Regions from separate parts of the Homo sapiens genome. Here all the other regions are linked to region 3. Evidence: promoter capture Hi-C in 16 types of primary human blood cells and fetal thymus (Javierre and others, 2016). All regions are on one chromosome and are shown on one strand. The core of a region is centred on a gene start or on the middle of the fragment in contact, and the rest is flanking DNA. Distances in the headings are between cores, read along the strand shown.

Evidence for each region. The method cuts DNA at HindIII sites, captures the fragments that hold promoters and counts their contacts. A CHiCAGO score of 5 or more calls a contact.
Region 1: a fragment that was not itself captured here is called in contact with the fragment with the promoter of TRIM4 in region 3 in 1 of 17 cell types (erythroblasts); the score reaches 5.3 in erythroblasts.
Region 2: a contact is called between a fragment that was not itself captured here and the fragment with the promoter of TRIM4 in region 3, in 1 of 17 cell types (erythroblasts). The highest score is 5.2, in erythroblasts.
Region 4: a contact is called between a fragment that was not itself captured here and the fragment with the promoter of TRIM4 in region 3, in 1 of 17 cell types (erythroblasts). The highest score is 5.3, in erythroblasts.
Region 5: a fragment that was not itself captured here is called in contact with the fragment with the promoter of TRIM4 in region 3 in 1 of 17 cell types (erythroblasts); the score reaches 5.1 in erythroblasts.

What each region holds. Positions count from the first base shown.
Region 1 is chr7:99,642,159-99,644,861 of GRCh38, forward strand. It overlaps a transcript of ZSCAN25 not described here. Among named protein-coding and RNA genes, the nearest start is that of ZSCAN25, 27 kb to the left of the region's middle. The HindIII fragment of the contact is 734 bases long and covers 1,017-1,750 here.
Region 2 is chr7:99,516,690-99,519,389 of GRCh38, forward strand. The region is part of intron 3 of ZKSCAN5 (zinc finger with KRAB and SCAN domains 5); the gene reads left to right. Among named protein-coding and RNA genes, the nearest start is that of ZKSCAN5, 13 kb to the left of the region's middle. The HindIII fragment of the contact is 351 bases long and covers 1,239-1,589 here.
Region 3 is chr7:99,918,134-99,920,833 of GRCh38, forward strand. TRIM4 (tripartite motif containing 4) reads right to left here and starts at 1,397. Exons shown (of 6, transcript NM_033091.3): 1 at 876-1,397. The coding sequence starts at 1,268. LOC101927610 (a long non-coding RNA gene) reads left to right here and starts at 1,470. Exons shown (of 2, transcript XR_001745296.3): 1 at 1,470-1,694. RefSeq lists a silencer at 969-1,128 and enhancers at 1,259-1,308, 1,339-1,418, 1,659-1,768. The HindIII fragment of the contact is 3,942 bases long and covers 1-2,700 here.
Region 4 is chr7:99,576,439-99,579,138 of GRCh38, forward strand. It overlaps ZNF655 (zinc finger protein 655), which reads left to right. Exons shown (of 3, transcript NM_138494.3): 3 at 1-15. Among named protein-coding and RNA genes, the nearest start is that of ZNF655, 19 kb to the left of the region's middle. The HindIII fragment of the contact is 2,350 bases long and covers 154-2,503 here.
Region 5 is chr7:99,536,653-99,539,355 of GRCh38, forward strand. No RefSeq gene overlaps it. Among named protein-coding and RNA genes, the nearest start is that of FAM200A, 14 kb to the right of the region's middle. The HindIII fragment of the contact is 5,686 bases long and covers 1-2,703 here.

The sequences.
Region 1 (2,703 bases), core at 134-2,633, 280 kb before region 3:
TCTGTCATGTTTTTAAAACATATCTGCAAATTCTTTGACACTCTTTTCACCAAGAGTTAGAGTCCAGTTCCTCTCCTCTTGAAACTGACCAAAGTGACTCACTTCTAACAAATTAAATGTGAAGGCAGTGATGCTTAGTCATAAGAGGTGATAGGTGGGATGCTTGCCCTTGGAACAGAGCTGCAATGCTGGGAGGAACCTCCACCACATTGACAGGCTGCACAGAGGTATTCCAGCAATAGTCCTCACTGTGGTCATAGTGGACACCTAGCACCAACCATCAGTCAGGTGAGAAGGAACCCTCCAGATGACTCCAGCTCCAGTCCCTGTTTGACTGGAACCATGTGAGAGACCCTACAGGGAAACTGCCAAGCTCAGCCTAGTCACCCCCAGAAATATGAACGAAAATAAATGCATGCTATTGTTTTTAGCCACTAAGTATGAGTGGTTTAATTACATAGCAATAGATAATTGGAACACAACCCTTCTACAGTAGCACTCCCCATCAGTCTCTATTTTCTTACGTAGATTTATTTTTCTTTGTAGCCCTTACCATTATCTGACGTATTATAAATTTGTTTTTGTTTCCTGTTCTACCACATGCCCTGGAACTTCAGCTGTGTGAAAGTAGAAACTTTGCTTTTTTTGCTGATATTTCCCCCACTACCTAGAATGGTGCTTGGTACATACTAGTCACTCAAGCTCAGATTGTTTTGTTAAATGGATGTACCTGTGGTCTGTGATGTGAAGAAGGCATCCAAGTTGAACAGAGACAGTATGGGCGTGAAAGTATTGTGGAACTTGGAAAGGACCACATAGGAGATATTATTATTATTCTCATTATTCTTGAGGATACTTTTACTTCCCCATTAGTGGTCCTTAATAATGATTTTTTAATGTAGGTAATGAAGTTATTTTTTCTTTTTTTCAAAAAAGCAATTTATTTTTGAAGTAGAAATAAAAATTCTGGTGTTTATAGGATCGAGTTTACACTTCCAAGTCTGTAAGAGTGACTAAGCTTCTGAACCTTTTATGGTTGCATTATGTGCAGGATGAGAAAGGGAATGTTTCTCTCCCCATACCCCTAAGCAAGCAGCCTGCAGGCCAAGACCGGTGCCCATCTAGAAAGGCGTTTGCCATAAGAGAAGAATCATCTTACCCTATGTACTCCATTGGACTTTAGAAGCCTGTGAGCCGGAAAGTCTCCTTACAAACCAGCATAGAGCAAGGTTAGGTGAAGGTCTTTCATGTTTACCCATTGCTGCCCCCCCTTTTTTTTTCATGTTCATTTTTTTTTCCATGGGGCCAAATCATTATATTCTTCACCATTACAGCAAATGCATATTGAACATTTCTTCATAGTGATGTCAACTCTTCATGTCATTTTCACAGTCTTGAGGTGAGATTCTGTTGAGTTTTTTGTGGTTTTATGGCCAGAGACCCAGGAAAGGCTGATTCTTGCCCTGCCAATCATCCCAACCCCGATGGCCCAAGGAGCAACAGCAGATGGGGCTCTCAGTCCCACTGTAGTAGTATCTGAGCTGCACCCAGTAACCTGCATCATAGAGGTCACTGGGGAAGGGAGTTGTGAGATCGTGTAGGCTTGCATTGCTCCCCCCTCTCAGCCCCACATCTGAGTTGAAGACCTGTGGGTTCAGGCACACTGTGCAGGAGGGAGATTGGAGACCAAATGGGAATTCCAAGAGATGCACAAGCAGAAGACTGTTCAGGGCCAGGCAAAAAGGAAGGAAGCTTCATCTCAGATGCTGACCCTGTGAGGCACACCACCCTTCATAAAATAGGGGCCAGTGAGATCCTGGGGCTCTGACAAGCACACACTTAATTCTTTTTCTTTGGATGGGATCAGGATCAAGGAGACAAAGGGAATGGGTTAAGGCAAAATCTCTTGGAGATGGTCATCAGTGTTCTTTCTCCAGTGTTTGCTGTCATCGTCCTTGTCATCATTGTCACCGTCACCATCATTAGCTATAGCAGCACACTTGTACTGAGTCATTGTTTTACACCAGGTGCTGTGATAGATTCTTCTGTGGATGGGGTTATTTGGATAAACAGGATCTTTTATACAACTTAAGAACAAACAGTCCTGTTTGGGGTAGCATTTGGGGTGCACTTGACTGATGCCAAGCAGAGCATGAAAAGGACTGTCACAGAATTTGCATTCTGGAGAACTCTGGAGGGGAAAGAAGACCCTCTCCTGGCCTAGGGCACTGGAGGCTTCATGAAGAACATGATATTTGATCTGAGCCTTGAAGGACAAGTGGAATTTTGTAGATAGAAATGGGCAAGTTGGGCTGCCTGAACAGCATGAGGGGGACTAAAAGCATGGTGTCTTTGGTAAATGAGAGGGACTTGGACTAGAAGGCAGTTGTTGTGACCCTCTGAGTAATTCTTTTTCCTCCGCCACGCCCTTTGCAGCCTATTACTGTAATTGATAGGAAGCTGCATATAATTCCTCCCACATGAACTCATTTTTATGAGGCCTTTCTTCATTTGTTTCCTTTCCCAAGTCAATGAGTGGAGAAGCACATTCCTAGGGATTATGATAGCCGATTTCCTGCATGTTCTTCACTCACAGAAAAGCAATGCCAGATCTGGTCTCCTTTCTTTCCTTTCCATGTATGTAACAGACCTTTCTTTTTTTGAAAAAAGAGAACACATAGTGGGACAGGTTGAGGTCAGCTC
Region 2 (2,700 bases), core at 164-2,663, 400 kb before region 3:
GAGGTGAGATGTCCGGGTGTTGCGCATGCTGTTCCTGCTGTGGGGAAAGCACCCTGTCTCCCCGATCTCCATTCCTACTGCCCAGAGTCACTTTCTGGGAAAAGGCTTTGCTGCTGCTGCTGCGTCTCCTGCTCCACTCTGTAAGTGCTCCTGCCTCTATGGTCCCACGGGAACTTGGGTCACCTTTCGTCATGGCACTCTTCACGCTGTGCTGTAAGGCTTACCTGTGTGCCCTTCCCATTAGACCAAGGGGTGTCCAATCTTTTGGCTTTCCTGGGCCACACTGGAAGAAGAATTGTCTTGTGCCACACATAAAATACACAAACACTAACCATAGCTGATGAGCTTAAACAAAATAAAAATTGCAAAAAAACCCCTCATGTTTATTTCTTTGAGATGGAGTTTTGCTCTTGTTACCCAGGCTGGAGTGCAATGGCGTGATCTCAGTTCAGCGCAACCTCTGCCTCCCAGGTTCAAGCGATTCTTCTGCTTCAGTCTCCCAAGTAGCTGGGATTATAGGCATGTGCCACACACTCAGCTAATTTTGTATTTTTAGTAGAGATGGGGTTTCTCCACGTTGGTCAGGCTGGTCTTGTACTCCCAGCCTCGGGTGATCCACCCTCATCAGCCTCCCAAAGTGCTGGGATTACAGGCGTGAGCCACTGTGCCTGGCCCTTCATAATGTTTTAAGAAACTTTACAAATTTGTGGGCCAGGCATGGTGGCTCACACCTGTAATCCCAGCACTTTAGGAGGCCGAACCAGGTGGATCAGTTGAGACCAGGAGTTCAAGACCAGCCTGGCCAACATGGCGAAATCCCGTCTCTACTAAAAATACAAAAATTAGTCAGGCATGGTGGCACATGCCTGTAATCCCAGCTACTCAGGAAGCTGAGGCAGGAGACTCTCTTGAACCTGGGAGGCGGAGGTTGCAGTTGGCCAAGATTGTATCACTACACTTCAGCCTGGGCAACAGAGCGAGACTCCATCTCAAAAAAACAAAACAAAATTAGCCGGGTGTGGTGGTGGGCGCCTGTAATCCCAGCTACTTGGGAGGCTGAGGCAGGAGAATCACTTGAACCTGGGAGGCGGAGGTTGCAGTGAGCTGAGATTGCACCACTGTACTCCAGCCTGGGTGACAGAGTGAGACCTTGTCTCAAAAAAAAAAAAAAGAAAGTTTACAAATTTGTGTTGGGGCACATTCAAAGCCATCCTGGGCCACGGGCCGTGGGTTGGGCAAGCTTGCATTAGACAGTACTTTTCCAAGGTAAGAATTGTTTTGTCTATTCCTGAGATGGGCAGAGAGAGAGAGAATAGATTTAATACATATTTCTTGACTGAATAGAAACTAACCATGGAAATTCTGGAAGGGATTTCTGAGGCTGTGGTAATCCAAGAGTGGTCCAGGAAGCCGTGGCACTGGCATTACCTGGGAGCTTATTAGAAGTGCAAACTAGGGGCCAGGCACAGTGGCTCACACCTGTAATCCCAGCACTTTGGGAGGCCATTGCAGGTGAATCACCGGAGTTTGAGACGATCCTGGACAACGTGGTGACACCCTGTCACTACTAAAACTACAAAAATTAGCCAAGCTTGGTGGTGCACACCTGTAATCCTAGCTACTCGGGAGGCTGAGGCAGGAGAATTGCTTGAACCCAGGAGGCGGAGGTTGCAGTGAGCTGAGATCGCGCCACTGCACTCTAGCCTGGGCCACAGAGCGAGACTCTGTCTCCAAAAAAAAAAATTTTTTTTAATTAAATTAAAAAATGAAAAAGAAATGCAAACTCTCAGGCCTCACCCCAGGCCTTTTGAGTCAGAATCTGCAAGTACCAAGATCCCCTAGGGGATGTAGGTGATTTATTTGTACATTAAAGCTCGAGCAGCCCTGGACTGTTAGGAATGCTTCAGTTTCATGGAAGATGTGGGAATTTGGTGGTTCTTTGAGATAATAAAATTTGATCTTGGCAAAGCAGAATGCATCCTTTTTTTTTTTTTTTTTTTTTTTGAGAGGGAGTCTTGCTCTGTCACCCAGGCTGGAGTGCAGTGGTGTGATCTCGGCTCATTGCAACCTCCGCCTCCTGGGTTCAAGTGATTCTCCTGCCTCAGTCTCCTGAGCAGCTGGGACTACAGGCGCCCGCCACCATGCCCAGCTAATTTTTGCATTTTTAGTAGAGATGAGGTTTCACCATATTGGCCAGGCTGGTCTCTAACTCCTGACCTTGTGATCTGCCTGCCTCGGCCTCCCAAAGTGCTAGGATTACAGGCGTGAGCCACCGTACCTGGCCCCCACCTTTTTTTTTTTTTTGAGACGGAGTCTTGCTCTGTCACCCAGGCTGGAGTGCAGTGGCACGATCTTGGCTCACTGTAACCTCCACCTCCCAGGTTCAAGCAATTCTCCTGCCTCAGCCTCTTGAGTAGCTGGGACTACAGGCACCTGCCACCACACCCGGCTAATTTTTGTATTTTTAGTAGAGGTGGGGTTTCACCATACAGGCCGGGCTGGTCTCGAACTGCTGACCTTGTGATCCTCCTGCCTCGGCCTCCCAAAGTACTAGGATTACAGGCGTGAGCCACCACGCCCAGTATTTTTTTTTTTTTTTTTTTTCTGAGACAGTGGCTGACTCTGTTGCCCAGGCTGGAGTGCAGTGGTGCAATCTTGGCTCATTGCAACTTCTGCATCCTAGGTTCAAGCGATTATCAT
Region 3 (2,700 bases), core at 147-2,646:
TACAGATACAGACAGGCACTGTCCAATACAGTATCCATTTAGCCATACAAGCACCTGAAACGTGGATATTCCAAACTGCTATGTGTTGTAAATGTAAAATACACACCAATTTCAGACCTATTATGAAAAAGGAGTATAAAATATCTCATTGAGGCCGGGCGTGGTGACTCACACCTTAATCCCAGCACTATGGGAGGCCAAGCGGGGCAGATCACTTGAGGTCAGCAGTTCGAGACCAGCCTGGCCAAGATGGTGAAACCCCTCTATACTAAAAAACAAAAATTAACCGGGTGTGGTGGCGTGTGCCTGTAATCCCAGCTACTCGGGAGGCTGAGGCAGGAGAACTGCTTGAACCCCGGAGGAGGAGGTTGCAGTGAGCCAAGATCACGCCACTGTGCTCCAGCCTGGGCAATAAAGTGAGACTCCATCTCAGAAAAAAAAAAAAAATCTCATTGATAATTTTCATCTCAGCTTTGAATATTTGGGGTAATCAGATTAAATAAAATATATTATTACAATTAACGTCACCTCGTTTCCTTATCTTACCAGAAAGATTTTAAATTACATATGTGGTTTCTATTGGACAGCAGCGGCACACACCCTCTCAGTATGTTTTTCTTTATTATGAGCTCCCCAAGGGCCAGTTTATTGAAAATTCTGCACAATGATTGCTGAGGTTTGCACCTCCCCTCCTCTCATTCCAGTTTTAACCCTAGCTCTGAAATTCGTGTTTTGCTTAACTTCTTTGAGTTTCAGGGGCTTTTCATGCTTCCAGTAGGAATGACAGCCACTTCGTGGCTCTTTTAGGAGCATTAAGTAAACTTTATCGGGCAACACTGACAGCCCCGTCATAGTCACCGCGACGGCCAGCTCACCCGGTAGCTCTCGAAGGCCTCGTCGATGGGTGCCATGGCGTGAGTCTGGTGCTCCTGGGACTCCCTGCACACCAGGCACACTGGCCGCTGGTCGTCCTCGCAGAAGAGCCGCAGCGGCTCCCAGTGGCGGCCGCACAGGCCCGGGGGCACGGGGCCCAGGCGCCGGCGCTGCGTCTTCTCAGTCAGCCTGGCCAGGGCCCAGTTGGGTCGCAGCGCGGCGGGCGCCGATGGGTGCCGACATTCGGGGCAGGGGAACGGGCCGCCGCCCGGCGCCCAGTTGCGGTGCAGGCAGCCGCGGCAGAAGTTGTGGCCGCACTCGATGGACACCGGGTCCTGGAAATAGTCCAGGCAGATGGGGCAGGTCAACTCCTCCTGGATGTCCTCAGCTTCCATGCTGCTTCCCTGCCGCGGAGACGGAGTCCGACGTGAGGCGCGGGAGAGGCCAGCAAGCTGCGAGCGGCCGCGGGGAGGCCAGACGACTTCCGAACCGCCGTCACCGCCTCACGTAAAAGGGTACAACGCAGTTTCTCTTCCGGGGTTCAGGACCCAAAAAGAACGCACGGACGTTGCCCGGCCTGAGCGCGCAAGACCGGAAGCTGCTGGGTATCCGCGCCGGAACCGCGAGGGGGTTGGTTCAGGCCTAGGCGCGGGGCAGGACGGGACCGGTGAGTGGCTCCTCCAAACAGCTATAGAGACCCAGAAATGCCTGTGGAAAGCTACAGAGGACTTGGGCAAGGCGTTAGAGCCGGACGTTGTGGTCCCTGGGGGAGCCAACCGGGGAGGTGCCTATGATCTTTCTTTCCAAGTTTGAGGGTTCAGGTCTGTGTTCGCCTGCTGGTTAGACCGATTTAAGTTTTAGAGTCCCAGGAGTTCTGGGCGAGCTGCAGCCTAGGGGCCTGGAAGGCCAGGAAGACTTGAAGGATCTGTGTTGGTAGGCCTGGAGTTTGGCTAACGTGGGGATGATTTGGATTCTGAGATGCAGATACATTGCCTTTTTGGTATCCAATTTGAAAAGTAGCAACCATTTTGCTATCCCAAAGAACATCCATGGAGGCTTTCAACAAATAATATGCTCACCTGTTTCAGGGAATTATCTATATCCCTTAAGTGGATTTTCGATCTTGTGTTTCTGAGGTGCTTTGCTTTTTATTCTTCCCACTTTCTTCCTTTTCTTGTGAATATTTGTTTAAAACAAAAAAAACTCTGGACTGACAAATTTAATAGAAGCTATTTGCACAAAGAACAGTTCATGAATTGGGCAGCACTCAGAACCAAAAGAGGTTCAGAGAGCTCTGTCCAGCAGTATGACCTGCTAGCTTTTATAGGAAGCAAAGTAGAGAAATCACCTCATTAGCTAACATCTAGGTGTCTGCCTTATTTGACAATGATATGATGAGGCATTTGCCTTATTGGGGCATGGTCTGATCAGTTGGCTGTCTGTTATTTGCTGAAGCTCGGCCGTGATTGGCTGAAACCCAGCTGTTATAAAAAATAAAGTAAGTTAGGCTTCAGTTCGTTTACATACTAAGTCAGGTTGTATTTTGTTATATGGGAACTCAAGTACCAAGACAGCCTCAGGCTAATGGGCTTTTGCTTATTTAACAGATTTTTCATTCTTTTTATGTCCCAATATCAAATACTGCCTTTCCTATAATAATTTTTCTCAGTAAGTAGTATGATTAAATGATTAGAAAAAGGGGTTCTTGAGGTATCTGTTTGGGGGTTATTGATGAAAGTTCCACTGAATATTTCTAAAACATTTAAATTGGACAACTAATGAATGGATTTTCTTTGCAAATTGGAATACTCTATGGAGAAGGGATCT
Region 4 (2,700 bases), core at 79-2,578, 340 kb before region 3:
TTGGTATTCTGAGAATTTGTTTCAAACAAAATCTGAAGGTCTCAGACAGAAGCGTTTGGGAATGTTGGAATCACATCTCTGGCTGCAACTCCTTTCCTCCCTGGAACTTGCTTCACAGCAAGAATGGATCACTTTCCTTTGCATTGATAACAAAGCTTGCTTTTCCACAGACCTCTGGAACAAAAGCTGAATGTTTGGGACTTAAAGGGGATTTGATTGGGAAGTTGTTGGTATATAAAATAAGACTAAATAGTTCGAGGTTTCAGTAGAACTAGGAATAACTTTTTGTTTGTTTGTTTGTTTTTTGAGACAGTCTCGTTCTGTCACCCAGGCTGGAGTGCAGTAGCGTGATCTCGGCTCACTGCAACCTCCGCCTCCTGGGTTCAAACGATTGTCTTGTGTCAGCCTCCCAAGTAGCTGGGATTACAGGCACCTGCCACCTTGCCTGGCTGATTTTTGTATTTTTAGTAGAGACCGGGTTTCACTGTGTTGGCCAGGCTGGTCTCAAACTCCTGACCTCAGGTAATCTGCCTGCCTCAGCCTCCCAAAGTGCTGGGATTACAGGCGTGAGCCGCTGTGCCCAGCCATATTTTTTAAATAAGTAAAACACTTTAAAAAAGGCGGACTCAAAATAGTCCTTTAGGGCAATCCTTTAAGCAGATATTTAATTGGCCTGATACATGAGTTTGTGTTCTGAGTCATTTTGGTCTTGAAAGGGGAGAGAAGAGAAATACGATAGTAGAGGGCACTTTTATCTTCTGTCTTTCCACCTACCTACACACACGTATGTTTGTACATATCTAAACTTTATTCTCAATTCTGCAAAGCAGCTAGCTTCATTTTACAAAGGAATATTTTAGTAAACATACCCCAGGCCAGGTGCAGTGGCTCACGCCTGTAATCTCAACACTTTGGGAGGCTGAGGCGGGCAGATCACTTGAGGTCAGGAGTTGGAGACCAGCCTGGCCAATGTGGCGAAACCCAGTCTCTACTTAAAATAGAAAAATTAGCCAGGCATGGTGTTGCGTGCCTATAATTCCAGCTACCTGGGAGGCTGAGGCGCAACAATAGCTTGAGCCTGGGAGGCAGAGGTTGCAATGAGCCGAGATTGTGCCACTGCACTCCGGAGTGAGACTCTGTCTCAAGAAAACACAAAAAAACAAAAAACAACAATATACCCCAAAGTGATGTTGGTATTACACAGATCTCAAAACCCAGAGAAGTTTGATAGCTCTTCATTCCCTAGTACATCGCTGATGACTCACTGTCATTAGTTTGCAACTGATCTCAAGTGCTCCGAGAGCTCTCTGGGATACTAGGAGAGAATATCCTGAGATTTTTTTAGGGAGCTAGTCAAACCCCTGCTCTGAAACAGGGTTGGACAGTTTTGACAATGGCAGGTCACAGGTCAAAGCTCTCAAATTTCATATGTCCTGTCAAGATACCGCTGCTGCCATCACTAGATTTGCATTTCCATTACACCGTGACCAAATTTACTCTTAATATTTTTCTGATAACCAGAACTTGCTGGTGGGCATGTATCCTTGCTAAGAGTCACTATCACCTCTGGTTATAGCAGTGGAGCAAAGTGGTAATGGGAAAATTCCTAGGTTTTTGGCCTGAGCAAAAGGGTGGATAGAAGTAGATGACAGGTGGGGAACACGGGGAGAGGGGCACGGAGAGTTTTAGCAAAAGAGCTAGCATGTCAAGGCCTGCATGTGAGAGTATGGCACTTTCCAGGTAATAAGTGAGGTATGGAGAAATGCCTCACTGTAGGATGTAGTATGTGGGCAACTGAGGAGGTTGAAGAACCAAGTTCAAAGGAGGCCCCTAGGGATTAGAGAACCAAGCACTATAGGATTCCCACATCTAAAAATGTTGCCTTCATTCATCCATTCATTCAGTAAACATTTAGCAGTGTAGGACTGGCATTGTTTCAGGAGGGATGCCCTGGATTTGGAGATCTTAACATGTAACTAGAGAAAACATTGGCATCCTGGGCTGTGGTGGGAACTAGCACCCGAAAGGTAACTCTGCTGGAGTCAGCAAACTGACATCTGTCCTTTTTCTAACATTTGTATCATATGAAACCACTTTTTTCTTCTTTTTTTTCAAACAGAATCTTGCTCTCTCGCCCAGGGTGGAGTGCAGTGATGTGATCTTGGCTCAGTGCAACCTCTGCCTCCCAGGTTTAAGTATTTCCTGCCTCAGCCTCCTGAGTAGCTGGGACTACAGGCACCTGCCATCACACCTGGCTAATTTTTGTATTTTTTGTAGGGACGGAGTTTCACCATGTTGGCCAGGCTTGTCTCAAACTTCTGACCTCAGGTAATCCACCCGCGTCAGCCTCCCAAAGTGCTGGGATTACAGGTGTGAGGGAATCACATTTTATATTCCCTTCAAAATACAAGTGTGTGAAGGAACCGGTGTTTTAATCCAAGAGTGTAAGAACGATTTCAAACAAATGGCACCCTTTACAAATAAAGAAACTACATACATTTAAAGCTTTATTTTGTGGACACTTCCTATTTACTCTCTGTTTTTAGAAAACTGTTAGCTATGGCTGGGTGTGGTGGCCCACGCCTGTAATCCCAGCACTTTGGGAGGCTGAAGCGGGTGGATCACAAGGTCAGGAGTTCAAGACCAGCCTGGCCAACATGGTGAAACCCCGTCTCTACTAAAAATACAAAATTAGCCAGG
Region 5 (2,703 bases), core at 12-2,511, 380 kb before region 3:
TCAGGATATTAGCCTCTTTTTGACAACTCTTTCAGATCTGTTTGGTGTGATTAGATAGGTGCAAATTACAAGTTGTCATAAACTGTGTTCTCCACTTCTCCCCAGCCAGAAGGAATTATTGAAGTCCCAGCCCCTAGTACCTCAGAATGTGACCTTATTGGAGATAGAACCATAGCAGATATAATTAGTTAAGACAAGGTCTCGGTCGGGCATGGTGGCTCATACCTGTAATCCCAGCACTTTGGGAGGCCGAGGCAGGTGGATCACTTGAGTTCAGGAGTTCGAGACCAGCCTGGCCAATATGGTGAAACCGCGACTCTACTAAAAATACAAAACTTAGCTGGGCGTGGCGGGCGCCTGTAATCCCAGCTACTCTGGAGGCTGAGGCAGGGAGAATCGCTTGAACCCAGCTACTCTGGAGGCTGAGGCAGGGAGAATCGCTTGAACCTGGGAGGCGGAGGTTGCAGCGAGCTGAGATCGCGCCACTGCACTCCAGCCTGGGCAACAGAGTGAGATTCTGTCTCAAAAAAAAAAAAAAAAAAAGACAAGATCTTACTGGGATGGGATGAGCCCCTAATCCAGTGACTGATGTCCTTATGAGAAGCTGACTGTGTGGACACAGGCACACAAGAGAGAAGGTCACGTGATGGCAAGGGCAGAGACTGGGGTTATGCAGCTGCAAGCCAAGGAATGCCAAAGATTGCCAGCAAACCACCAGAAGCTATGAAGAGCCAAGGTTTCCCTTGCAAGTTTCAGGGATAGACCTGCTGACACCTTAGTTTCTGACTTCTAAACTCCAGTACTGAGAGACAATACATTTTTATTGTTTTAAACCACCCAGTTTGTGGTACTTTGTTACAGCAGACCTGGGAAATGAATGCACAAGTGTATTCTCCTTTGTGAATATTAGCAAATTAAGGATTTTTTTTTTTTTTTGAGGTGGAGTCTTACTCTCTCGCCCAGGCTGGAGTGCAGTGGTGCGATCTCGGCTCACTGCAACCTCTGCCTCCTGAGTTCAAGCGATTCTCCTGCCTCAGCCTCCTAAGTAGCTGGTATTGAAGAGCCAGCCGCACAGCTGTGTGTGGGAGCCACCTGACTAAGCAGCCGAGACAAGGCGGACAGTATAAGAGAACTAGTGTAAGTGAGCTGCTGATGAGAGCTGCTAAATAAAACTACATTTCACCTGCCTACGGCCCCCTGAGTGTTTTCAGCTATCTGCTCATCCACTCACTCCCTTTGGACCTCAGCATGAGTTGGAACCTGACCCTGGGCATGACAGTTGGCGTAGTCGTGAACCTGACACCGATGGAACAGTATAGCTCTAAGGCGATCAATTGGAATATGAAACAGTTAATTTTTACATTGAGTTATTTCCATTTGTTAAAAGTGAAAAAGGGGGAAATGATTAAAATCTGCTTTTTTTGTTGTTGTTGTTAAGACAGAGTCTCACACTGTCACCCAGGCTGGAGTGCAATGGTGTGACTATGGTTCACTATACCCTCGACTTCCTGGGCTCAAGTGATCCTCCCACCTTGACCTCCTGAGCAGCAGGGACTACAGGTGCTCACCATCATTCTTGGTGCTCACCATCATTTTTAATTTTTTTGTGTGAGGAGACGGGCTCTCACATGTTGCCCTGGCTGGTCTCTTAACTCCTGACCTCAAGCAATCCTTCCACCTCAGCCTCCTGAGTAGCTGGGTCCATAGGCGCACACCATCGTGCCTGGCTGATTTTTGCATTTTCGTAGAGATGGGGTTTTGCCATGTTGCCTAGGCTCATCTCAAACTCCTGGGCAACAGATCAAGCGATCCTCTGACTTCAGCCCACTTCGGCCTCCCAAAGTGTTGGGACTACAGGCATGAGCTGCTAACACCTGGCACTGCTGTCTCTTTAGGAAGAAAAACCCATAAGAACATTAAAGACTTCCTAAAGCAATTGGTCTTAACATTTTGGGGATAAGGTAGCCTTCTTAGACTCTGTTGAAATCCACTGGCCTTTCCCCCAGAAAAGTCCATATTTTGAGTCTGATGCACAATCTCAGAATGTCTGTGGACCCACTAGGGCTATCTGAAAATTCCAAAAGAAGGGACATAGAGGAAAAACTGGCTGAGGGGAATTGCATTAGGAGCACTGGGGGTAGTGAAAACAATCATACCTAAAGTAAGAGAACACCAAAGCATTACCAGGCATGGATGGCATGTTAGAGAGTGGGGAAAAGGCAGGTTTACAGAGTCTGCACTACAAATGAGAAAGTAGGCAAAAAGAAAAAAAAAGTACTTTGGCAGCTCAAAGTAATAATAAAAAAGAGGGAAGAAAATTACCTTTTTTCCTGTTTTTTGAGACAGGGTCTCACTCTGTCCCCCAGGCTGGAGTGCAGTGGCATGATCTCAGCTCACTGCAATCTCCACTTCCTGGGTTCAAGCAATTCTCCTGCCTCAGCCTCCCGAGTAGCTGGGACTATAGGCACCCATCACCACGCCCAGCTAATTTTTGTATTTTTTGGTAGAGATGGGGTTTCACCATGTTTGCCAGGCTGGTCTTGAACTCCTGACCTCAGGTGATCCACCTGCCTCAGCTGCCCAAAGTGCTGGAATTACAGGCATGAGCCACCACGCCCGGCCTTATTTTTTTCCCTTTTGCTTTGATGATATACATTCTCTACATAATAATCATTCAGTACTAGTACAGAAAACTCTTGTATT